Regions from separate parts of the Homo sapiens genome. Here region 1 is linked to region 2. Evidence: promoter capture Hi-C in 16 types of primary human blood cells and fetal thymus (Javierre and others, 2016). All regions are on one chromosome and are shown on one strand. Each heading gives the region's core, a stretch centred on a gene start or on the middle of the fragment in contact. The rest is flanking DNA. Distances are from core to core; before and after follow the strand shown. Region 1 holds the start of FCRL2 (Fc receptor like 2). Region 2 holds the start of IFI16 (interferon gamma inducible protein 16).

Region 1 (6,029 bases), core at 1,384-3,883, 1.2 Mb before region 2:
TTTTCTGAGAAACTCTTGCTAAAGGAAAAGAAAGAGAATGAAGTGGCTGTTGCCCTGTTCTCTGAATGGTCGTAGGTGATTCACTTCAGGGAGCCTGCTGTCTTGGCATGATTCCACTAATGGTCAGAAACCTCCTGAATATTGATCGAGGTTTCCTCTAATTTCCATCCAGACAGACAGTGGAGTGATGGGTATCACAGGGTGGGACTCCTGGACCTTATGTGGGACAGAATGAATGCAAGAGACCAGACTTGCTCCTGAGCAAGTTCCAGGTAGGACCCCTGAATGTCTCCCTGGACACTCTTGTTCCATTCAAGGTGACAGCAGGATCTGCTTTTCCCACACTGTTCCTTAGAGCCCAAAGAGCCCCTTCCACTTGGTAGCCAGCATTCAATGGGCAAGGGAACAAGTCTCCCTTTCTTTAGATTTTGTCTTGGCTCATGTGAAGATTCTGTATATAGAATAAAATATTTTTCCCATTGACTTCCTTCACTGAGCACAGATTTAACTCAGAAAGAGTGAAATAAAATTAGCTTTATTTCACTCTTTATGATTAGAACAGTAATACATGCATTTTTAAAAAATCAAAACTAAATACTAAATCTAGAGCACGGGTTGGCAAATTATGGCCTGTGAGCTGGCCAACACTGTTTTGGTAAATAAAATGTTATTGGAACACAGCCATCCTCATTCGTTTACATATGGTCTATGGTTGTTTTCCTGCTACCACAGCAATGGCATTGAGTAGTTACGGCACACACCTGAAAAGCTTAGCCTATTTACTCTCTTGCCTTTTACAGGAAAAGCTTGCTGATTCCTGAGCTAGAGCTAGAGAAGCAATGAGGACACATGTTTATTCTGACCCTGCAGAAGTTTGTAGTTCTGACACATTCCTCTATAAATAGCTGTTTTCAGAGCTGTAAAAACATTCAGCATTCAGCCAGACAATAAAGAGGCATTACAGTCCTATGGGCAGGAAAACAATTCTCTCCAAATTGTTCTTTTCTTCAATCTGCATGTTATTGCCCTTCTTAAAGCCAGGCTTTTAAGGAAGAGGCAAGCATGTGGGGTCTTGAGAAGGCTAGGTGGTACCTGGTCACCCAGACATGCAAGTGGTGTTGGAAACAGGCTGCGTGACCTCAGAACATGTCAGCCTAGAGGGCAGTAATATTAGGACATCTTCACAGGCTTTCCAGAGCCACCTCTATAGAATCCTGGGGTAGTGGGGTGACTGATATGCCAGAGACCAAGAACAACAAAGACAAGGAGGACTCACCTGCCTGTTCAGTGACTGCATCTGTGAGGAGATCAAAAGCCAGAGATTAGCACACAGCATTTGCCCTCATAATTTATAAATTTATATTACTCTGGTAAATTGCTCAAAAACTTCTTTCCATTTTCCCTTTCTTTTCTATTTCCCTAATCTCTTATTACTAACAATTCAATCTCCCTCGAGCACACATCTAACTGTCATTCATTGTAGTCAAAAGGCAAGTTGCAAACCCAATGCTTGACTAAAGGGATTGTCGAGAATACCCATGTTGGATATTTAGTGACTCTCCTTGATTTCATTTTCCTTCCACCATCCCCACCACTCTATCTCACACTCTGACTTTTCAAGTGGTAGATAGACATGACAACACGATCACAAAGGGCTCATCAGGAAACATACATTGTGAGAGTTCCAAGAAATCAACAAATCAGTCTCTTTCCTATGGCCATATTTCACGTTAGAGCCCTTTGTATTCCAATAACAAATATTTATTTAGTGCCTACACAGCATAGAGAAAGGGATCTTATTTACTCTCTCACCCAGGCTGGAGTACAATGGTGCGATCTTGGCTCACCACAACCTCCACCTCCCGGGTTCAAGCAATTCTCCTGCCTCAGCTTCCCGAGTAGCTGGAATTACAGGTGCCCACCACCACGCCTGGCTAATTTTTGTATTTTTAGTAGAGATGAGGTTTCACCATGTTGGCCGGGGTGGTCTCGAACTCTGACCTCAAGTGATCCACCAGCCTTGGACTCCCAAAGTGCTAGGATTACAGGTATGAGCCACTGCACTCACCCAGGAATCTTATTTTCTAGCAGCAGCTGTCATCTCCCTCATTGTCCACGATTAAACAGAGGAATATTAGCAAAGGGTCTCAATGCATCTGCTGAACCCAAATCTTATAGATAACAATTGAATAATCGGTGTTCATGGAGGAGAAGGGCATTGCTAAATGCTAATATTATGAACATTTTACTATGAGAACATTATATTACTCAATGAGATCTAAGATATCAAAATAGCAATTCATGACCAGCAAATGGAAAAGTGGTCCACCTTGAACATTAAGCATTGTGCTTAATGCTTAATGGATGTGCTGCAAATTCACTGTCCTCAGCCTACTTCTTTGCATCTGCCTTTGAAGCCCAAGCTGCAGGCAGGACCTGAGCATCCCCACCAGTCCCTGGGCTCCAATAAAACCTCCAACCTTTTGGGAGCAGTAGACCTCATTCAGCTGCCACCTCACTTCTCAGTCAAATTATTGAACTCACCAAAGATGACCAGCAATGACCACAGCAGCATGAGGACCTAATCCAGCTATTTGAAAAGAGATGTACTCTTGGTCACCAACTGGAGACTCTGAGCAGGCGATGAAATGTGGTTTTCAGAATAGGTTTTGTATAATTAGCAAAAAAGGAAGTAGAATAGTGCCACTATGTTTAACCATTATCTTTGTCCTGGAAGGGCTAAAACAATTATAGCTGATCCTCTCAATGCCAGAGAAATTTTGTAACTTGACCCTCATTATGATACCTAGCATTTACATATGGGTTGCAATGAGTCAGACACAGTTCTAAGTGCCTCATGCTTACAGAGTTATTTATTACCTTCAGCAAGTTTCTGAATTGGCACTATCCCCTTTCACATGAATAAGGAAATTGAGGCACTAGTAAAGGTAAGTGTCTTAGTCCATTGGGGCTGCTATAAAGAATACCTTAGACTGAGAAATTTATAAACAACATAAATTTATCACTCATAGTTCAAGAGGCTGGGAAGTTTAAGATCAAGGCACCAGTAGATTCAGTGTCTGATGAGGGCCTGTTTCTCATAGATGGTGTCCTCTATGTGTCTTCACATGATGGAAGGAGCAAACAAGCTCCCTCAAGCCTCTTTTACAAGGAGACTAATCCTTTTCATAAGAGTTCCACACTCATGACCCCTAAAAGGTCATGTAATAAAAGGTGGGTACCTTTTATTACTATTGCATTGAGGATTAAGTATCAACATAAGAATTTTGCCAGGACACAAACATTCAGATGATAGCAGCCAGTAAAATGACCAAGATCAGCTTAATCAATTTCTAGTAGTAACAGATCTGGGATTCAAACCCAGGCAGCCCAGTGTCACAGTCTGGCTCTTAAACATTGTGCCCTATTATCTTGATATATTGCTTCTCAAGGTTCATAAAATAATAAGGCCATTGTTTCAATAGCTCATATTTCTTAAGTAAAATTTTTCGTAGTCATTCGATGACTTTCTAGAATGAGATTTTACTAAACTTCAAAACACTTGCACTATATTGCTGAAAACATTGCCATCTTTCTAATCTGTAATCACAACATTGCCTATTTCTAATCTGCATTGCTTTTTGTACCCCAGGCTGATCCTAATACAGTTATCTCACACAAAGCAAAGCGCGTGTTATGTGAACACCTATTATCATGCTCACTTTGATTAGATGTAGTCCCAGTAGATGTTGTCTCATCAGTGAACCTTATGCAGGATGAAACTCTAAACCAAAAAATCACAGGTGCTTATAAATGAGGGACTGACTGAAAATATTCATAGACTCAATGTTACCTGTTCAGGTACTTAACATTTACCTGAATACTTAACATTGAATTTTTAACAATTGGATACTTAACATTTTATTCTCACTATTATCATAGTTTTACTTTGAGAAAGGCTAATATTTATATGTGATGGTCATTAAAGCCTTGCTTATAATAATGTAAAAAGAAAATACTAAAAATATATCACAAGGAGAGATGTGTGTTAAAAATAAGTTATGTGTCAAATGCTGTGGAAAACCAAACAGCCATTAAAATAATTCTGTGGAATAATATTTAATAGCAAGATAAGATGTCTAGGATATATGATTAAGAAAAAAGTGGGCTGGGTGCGGTGGCTCACGCCTGTAATCTCAGCACTTTGGGAGGCTGAGGCGGGCGGATCACGAGGTCAGGAGATCAAGACCATCCTGGCTAACACGGTGAAACCCCATCTCAACTAAAAATACAAAAAATTAGCCGGGCGTGGTGGCAGGTGCCTGTAGTCCCAGCTGTTTGGGAGGCTGAGGCAGGAGAATGGTACAAACCCGGGAGGCAGAGCTTGCAGTGAGCCGAGATCGTGCCACTGCACTCCAGCTTGGGTGACAGAGCAAGACTCCGTCTCAAAAAAAAAAAAGAAAAGAAAAGAAAAGAAAAAAGTGGCTGCAGAGTGCACTTTATCTGCTGCACATTATCCCCTGCTCTCCAATAAAAAGTGTCTGAGACAATTCGCACCACAGAGTTACTGTAATTATATCCAAAAAATCTAATTAAAGCTGATTTTTATTTTCCTTATTTTGCTTATCTGTGTATTCTAGTATTCTTACAATAAACATATGCTATTTACGTACTTTTTAAAGATTCATTATAAGAAACTAGGTTTTATGGCCTCTCTCATCTTAAAGTGTTGAAAACAATACTACTTTAACTTTCTGCATAGGCAAACGGTTTGTATGTGTTTGAAAGTGTAAGTTACTCTTTCCCAGGACCAAAGCTAGTCACTGATCATCAAATCTTGCCTACTGAATGGGTTTCTAGGTGGCCTATAATTCCTTCCCATTCTGACCAACCTGGAAGCTATAGAAATTTTGTGGATGGGAGGGAATTAAGGAAAGGAGTACAAATAGGATCATGAAAAAGTTGATGGTAAATTGATGGTAGGTACAAGTTTTTCATAGACATCAAGGAGATTTTTCAAAATAATCCATATCCCTTCACTGATTTCTATATACCCTCTATGGAAATGTGGCCTCTTCAGTTAAGAATCAATATTTCTTAAGGTGTTACCAAATGATATGAGGTAAAATTCACAGTTGGTATAAAAGGTGCAGGTGGAAAGCAGCAGTAATGAGGTGTGTGGGCCACAGAGGTGGCAACAAATCCTCTAAGATGGCTAACATGTTTCATGTGGGTGCTACTCTGTATTTGACAGACGGCAGTAATTTACAAGTGAATAGGCATATCCTGGAAGCGTAGCTAAACTTGAATGCACAGTAGGCACTGTGACCAGAGATTAAGAGGCTTAATAGACACTTGGTGGGGGGTGGGGAAAGTAACTTAAAAATTAAGGCAATAGTGGCAGAAATAAAATTATGTTTGTAGGTTTGATCAAAGTGAGAGATAATACTTTTTGTGCAAGGATATTTTGCCACCAACAGGATGGAGTCACAGGTATCAGAAAGAACCAGCATTAGACATACATATAAATGCCTCTTGGATCAACCAGGTAAACCCTTAACATGGAGATTCCACAGGTGGTAACATACTGAAGCCTATTTTGCCAGATGCAGAGCAAGAGTCATCTCTGTGAACCGTGTTCAATGTCTTGAATGGAATACAAAATACAGTGCCAAGTTGGGGCATGCCAGAACTGAGACAGAGACAAATAGAGTCTTCATAAAATATGTCAGAATAAAACAAATCACACTTCCTGCTTGATGAATTTGATTACTAGGACAGTTAGAGTGGGAAAATAAGAAAATGAAACAGGCTAACTTCCAAGATCCCTAGATATAATCTTTTGAGCTTGGGGTTCCAAGGTCACTATGAGAGAATTAAATGTCATAATATATATAAATTACTTGTCATAATAATTGCTACATAAATGGCAGTAGAAGTAGTCATAGTCATGGTCATCATCATTGTTATGGCAGTAGTGGTAGTAGCAGTTTTAATAATTACAATAATTACCTTGAGCAGCATGATAT
Region 2 (6,269 bases), core at 1-2,500:
CAGCACGCTAAAGGGCACCCACTGTCCTTAACAGAGAAAAATACACTGCTGAGCAGAGGATTAAACAGACTCCTCACACTACCGGAAGTTCAGTGCATTTTCCAGGATTTTCAAGTCTTCGATGCTGTCATGTTGAGAGTCCACTATCCACGTTTGTTTATCCAGGAATAATGCAGAAAATCTGAGCATTCGTGAATCTAATCATTGAGGTAAAGTAACCTAGTCATGGTCAAGAGGACAGCTAGTGTTAAACTCCTTCATATAAATTTAAGGAAGGATTTACATATTCATAATGACTTTCTGATCTGGAAAGCCCAGGCTTGTCAGTTATTAATAATTGGATGAATACTTCAGGTAGTATTTAAACAAATAGCGATTTCATAGCAGACATTTCCCCAACCAGGAGATGCAGTAAAGTATTGGTAGCAATAGATGCTCCTACCAAGATCTCCTCCTGCCACTGCCACTCTGTGCACAGGAAAGGAGGGGAGAAGAAGCCATGTTGCTTCTCTTATATTTGAGCATCATTTAAGGGAATATAAGTCTCTAATGACTCACATGTAAGTCTGCTGGGTAAGAAAGTTCTAATGTTGGAACTCCTTTCAGCTATCGAATTTTGTAAGAAAAAAAACTTATTTGTGTTTATATACATTTATGAGATACAAGTGTAATTTCGTTACATGGATATATGCCATATTGGTGAAGTCAGAGATTTCAGTGTGCACATCACCCGAAAAATGTTAACTGTACCCATTAAAGTAATTTCTCATCCCCCATTTCCCCTCACCACATGCTCCAGCCCTTGCCAGGAAACTGTTCATTTTCTCTGACTAACAGAAACGAAAGCTAAAAACACTGGTGGGAGGAGTCTCCACATTGTTTCCTACTCCATTTTCTCTGGGGCAATAGCAGAATAGGAGCAAGCCAGCACTAGTCAGCTAACTAAGTGACTCAACCAAGGCCTTTTTTCCTTGTTATCTTTGCAGATACTTCATTTTCTTAGCGTTTCTGGAGATTACAACATCCTGCGGTTCCGTTTCTGGGAACTTTACTGATTTATCTCCCCCCTCACACAAATAAGCATTGATTCCTGCATTTCTGAAGATCTCAAGATCTGGACTACTGTTGAAAAAATTTCCAGTGAGGTGAGTACTGTTCCTGATTTTGTAAATATGATCTTGTTCCTTCCTTGAAGTCCCCAGAATCACAAGGGGACAATCAGTATTGGTTATTCAGGGTCATGGGATGATGGGAGTAGGGCTGAGTATTCAGAAAAGTGAAAACTGAGTTGCTTGATATGAATCCTTCATTTACTTAGGAAGATAACAGGCATCTTCTATTCCACCACAACTGAGGACTGAACAAGAGAAAATGCATTTTGACCGTTGCAGATTTTAAAATTAATTATCCGAGTGTATACTGGCATAAGTTGGTACTTAGAAGAGGGCTTCTGTTATTTTGGCTGGAAGAAGTGTTGGAAACTCGGTAGCTGTGGTGGGTTCTCAAGATAGTGACATGAAAAAAGTATCATGAAAGAATATTAAGTAAAAAACATATCTGAGCATAGAGATGTATTATATGACATCATCCCAATTTTACAAAACATAAGAACAAATGTACACAGAGTAGAAAATTTTTTTCAGTTTCACAAACACAGTTACTCAAGCACATGGTGTCTTAATATTTTCATAAGTATATTGATCCTTTACTTTAGCTCCATTCTGCACCGGGTGCTAGCGGCAGAATTTCAATCATTTTGGAATTACTCTCTGCCCTCCTGAAAGTTAATGATTTTTTTTTTCCTTGTGGCAAGGTATAGGGGAGTGGAGGGGAAGGCAGTTAGGAAAAGGTTACTATTGTTTACTTTTCAAATTTTTAAAAGATGTTTTCTATAGCCTGGTACAATATTTCATGTGTGCTTAAATGGAATGTGAGATTCTTAAATGTTGTTTTCAGAATTTTATTAGATAAATGTTGTTAATTACGTTGTTCAAATTTATTATATCATTACAGATTTTTTCACCTTGTTCATTTAGTAATTGAAGCATAAACTGAAATCTCCTATTATAAAGTTTGCTTTTTTGGCCGGGCACAGAGGTTCATGCCTGTAATCCCAGTACTTTGGGGGAGACCAAGGCGAGCGGATCACTTGACGTCAGGAGTTCCAGACCAGCCTGGCCAGCATGGCGAAACCCTGTCTCTATTAAAAATACAATAATTAGCCGGGTATGGTCATGTGTGCCTGTAATCCCAGCTACTCAGGAGACTGAGGCAGGAGAATCGCTTGAACCAGGAGGCAGAGGTTGCAGTGAGCCGAGACTGTGCCACTACACTCCAGCCTGGGTGACAGAGCAAGGCTCTGTCTCAAAAAAAAAAAAAAATTTTTTTTCTTTGTAGTGCTCTCACAATCACATACATGTTATGTGTATATATAATATACATTCACACACAAATATATGTATATATAATCATGTATACAAACAGGTACACACATATATGTGTGTAGTGATGTCTGTACATGTGTGTATATGAAGAGAAATATATACTAATTATAGTACCATGAAGCACTATAAAATAATAAATAATATCATTAGATAAATTAGATAAATTCATAACTAAAACATAATTTTCTAGGAGTTGAAACTTTTATCATGTGGTATCTGAAGTTACTTTTGGGCTTAAGGTATATTTAAAATTACACAAACATAGATAAACTGGCTTTCTTTAGTTATTCCTTGCAAGATAATTTTTAACAATTTTTTTCACCTTTTGTTAACAATATATATGTAGATTTCTTAAATCAAATTTGATGAAAGTTGTCACTTAACAGGTCAGACCTTTTAGGTATATGCTGGTAATTAACAATCTGCTGTCTTTACTTCAATTTATGACACTTCTATATCATCTCACTATCTAAGACAATTGCTTTAGTGAATTGTCATGTTCTTTTTCTTCCCTCCCTTTACCATGCTGTTGTAATTTCTGTTTCTCTTATATTTGATCAGGGTTTTCTTTGTAAGACATTAGGAACACCTAAAAAAGTTTATTTTTCACTCTTCTTATCTTTTGGCTGGCAGAATTTTTAATTTTATTCATGTTTTCCTATTAAATATTATTTTCAATAGATGTTTTCTTGTGGTATGAGTCTTTGTCTTGCAAAAAGACTGAGGCCCTGAGTATCACAAAATAGTTTTTGAGACTCTTCTATTTAAATATCATTTTGCCTAAATTAAAACTCTAAAATGTAAAATTATATTTTCCCTTAAGACAAGATGAAAGCACCTCTTCTGTGCTGTGGAGCTAGATACATTTTGAAGTTAAGAATCTGGAGGCTTCAGAAAGGCTATTTAGTGTATATATTCTAAATAGTGTCTTACTAGAAACTCCATTGGGATATAAATAATTACTCCAAAATCAAAAGCACTAATATTGCAAAACAAAACATGTGAGTGTTCACATTTCAGTGAAATAAAGATTATACATAGCCTACTGTCATCCCAAATCTGGTTTTATTTTGCAAATAAATTGTGCTGTCACACTTGTTGGAAACAAGTGCTCAGTGCCACAAAGAAAAACCAGCACTTAAACAGGAAATTTCTCAGCAAAGCATATTTGCTTCTACAGAAGGGTGCTGCCTGCGTCAGTCACAATGCACATTCTAAGCTGACCGGATTGGCTACTGCTTTAAATTCTATAGGGGTAATTAGGCGGGAAGGAAGACACTGTCCTGTACCAATTAGGCGGGAAGGCATGTCTGGGGCGGCAAAGGAAGGAAGGGTTGTTTACAGAACAGGAAAGAACAGGAAAGTTTGAAGACGAACTTATTGTTTCTAGCACACTCACAAAATAAGTCAAAACTTTCCATTGAAAATTTTTTTTGGTTTTGCAATTGATATGGAACTTTGGACCAACATTATATAAAAATAACTCCATTGTCCTGCTTCAGGCAGTTTTGATATAGAGATTCACTTTCAATTTGATTCTTGAATCTTTGTAGGTGATCTATTCCTCATTACCGAAGGCTTACAGAGTATTTTTGTTCATTATATTCTTCAGTTTCACTATAATGTGTTTTTGTATAGATTTTCCCTTCATTCTCTGGACCTTTTCAGTCCAAGGATCCTCATGTTCTCGTAAGAAGGAAGCTTTTTTTTTTTTTTTTTTTTTTTTTTGACGGAGTCTCACTCTGTCACCCAGGCTGGAGTGTAGTGGCACGATCTCCGCTCACTGCAACCTCCGTCTCCTGGGTTCAAGCAATTCTCCTGCCTCAGCCTCCCGAGTAGCTGGGACTGCAAGCGCTTGCCACCACACCTGGCTAATTTTTGGTATTTTTAGTGGAAACGAGGTCTCACTGTGTTAGCCAGGATGCTTTTGATCTCCGGAACTTGTGATTCGACCACCTCGGCCTCCCAACATGCTGGAATTACAGGCGTGAGCCACTGCGCCTGGCCCAATTAATAGCCCCTGAAATTTAGATATCTTGGTTATACACAAAGACATCATTCCTAAAATTAAAAAATTCATTAATTTAAAAGTTTTGGAATCCATACCTTGCACTGTCATCATGGAAGTGTACAGGTGTTAAGAGGTCAAGAGCAGTGACACTCTGTCCATAGGGAGACTCTGAAATCTACCATGAGACAAAGCCTCAGTTGAGTCTTAAGGTTGTATGGGAAGTAGTCAAAGAAAGAAATGTGGGAATGGCTTTCCAGGCAGTAAGAAGGAACTAGCAAAGTCATGAGGCATGAAGACACAAGGTGTCCGGCATCTTTGTGAAGCATAGATACAAGGAGTACAAAGGTACTAGAAGTAAAAAAGATGCAGCTTATTCAACACTTTCTGAGACAGTATAGGAAGCAAGGAATTTTGGGGAAGAAAAAGGAGAAATATTGAAGGATTTCAGTGGAATATAAATGTGGCTTATCGAGAGAAAACTGATTGTGCGAAAAGAAATAATTAGACAAATCAAGTCTGAAAGAAGAAAAATAAAACAACCAATAAAATCATTTCAGTGAATAAATACTGTGATGCTGCACTAGAAAGCATGCAGATTTTCAGCAAAGTTATGGTTTTATGGGTACAGAGAACAGAAGCCATGGTCTAGCACCAAAGAAGGGAGGATGCTAATGAAAGCCAACTAGGGAAGAGTCAAGGAGAATAGGGTCAGTGCCACAGCATGAAACTGTAGCGCTGTAGCAGAAAGTTATTCATATAAGGTGGGAGGCTGCAGCCCATTTACACCTAGGCCGCTCCAGTCATACTGGGTGTGGGAAGATTTAAGAAACAACAGGCAGGATTTGGGGAATAGGCTTCAGCCCCAGTAAAGGATAAGAAGAGGAACCAAGGGCTTTGACACTGCAGAGCTCATACTCTTAACACTGAGGCAATTGCTTGTTCTCAGACCTCCCTCTAACAACTGGACCCAACTCAACTATTCTCATTCAATGGGAATAATTTCTTAGACATTCCTAACCCAGCAGTTCTTCACTCAATTTCTACAGTAACACATTTGGTCGTTGAGTCCTTCTTTATCACACATATTCATGAACAACTCTTTCATATGGGCCACTCACTCACATAGGCATACATCTTTTAAATTGTCTGTATACATGTGTAACACTGTATATACCATTTTCTCTTGTAGGCTCACTTATGTCTGTAAAGATGGGAAAAAAATACAAGAACATTGTTCTACTAAAAGGATTAGAGGTCATCAATGATTATCATTTTAGAATGGTTAAGTCCTTACTGAGCAACGATTTAAAACTTAATTTAAAAATGAGAGAAGAGTATGACAAAATTCAGATTGCTGACTTGATGGAAGAAAAGTTCCGAGGTGATGCTGGTTTGGGCAAACTAATAAAAATTTTCGAAGATATACCAACGCTTGAAGACCTGGCTGAAACTCTTAAAAAAGAAAAGTTAAAAGGTAATTGGGAAGAGGGAACACCCACTCCCTGCAACCATCCCCAAACCCTCCCCAACATTGATTAGAGCCCCACCTCGGACATACTTGAGATGTGTTTTCCCCAGTTTGTGACTCAACAGCTGAGACAATGTTGGTACTTCAGAGGCCAACAAGTTGACAACTTAGTGCATTCCATTACTGGTGTAGATTGAAGTATTTCAGAATGTATATTTGGGATCAGTGAAAGAACAAAAGTGAGAGGGAGTTGAAGGGGGACTGAGACTTCCAGTACATTAGAAAGATTATATAATAATAAAATCATAAAAACTGTTTAAATTCAAGATATGTACATTTAGCCAAT

Evidence for each region. The method cuts DNA at HindIII sites, captures the fragments that hold promoters and counts their contacts. A CHiCAGO score of 5 or more calls a contact.
Region 1: a contact is called between the fragment with the promoter of FCRL2 here and a fragment that was not itself captured in region 2, in 1 of 17 cell types (total B cells). The highest score is 6.6, in total B cells.

What each region holds. Positions count from the first base shown.
Region 1 is chr1:157,774,499-157,780,527 of GRCh38, forward strand. FCRL2 (Fc receptor like 2) reads right to left here and starts at 2,634. Exons shown (of 12, transcript NM_030764.4): 1 at 2,545-2,634; 2 at 1,277-1,297. The coding sequence starts at 2,575. The HindIII fragment of the contact is 5,936 bases long and covers 805-6,029 here.
Region 2 is chr1:159,009,017-159,015,285 of GRCh38, forward strand. IFI16 (interferon gamma inducible protein 16) reads left to right here and starts at 891. Exons shown (of 12, transcript NM_001376587.1): 1 at 891-1,145; 2 at 5,645-5,929. The coding sequence starts at 5,665. It overlaps LOC124904432 (a long non-coding RNA gene), which reads right to left and starts at 5,034. Exons shown (of 2, transcript XR_007066671.1): 1 at 4,551-5,034; 2 at 3,491-4,464. RefSeq lists enhancers at 748-827, 6,001-6,269 and a silencer at 3,600-3,709. The HindIII fragment of the contact is 5,786 bases long and covers 1-4,143 here.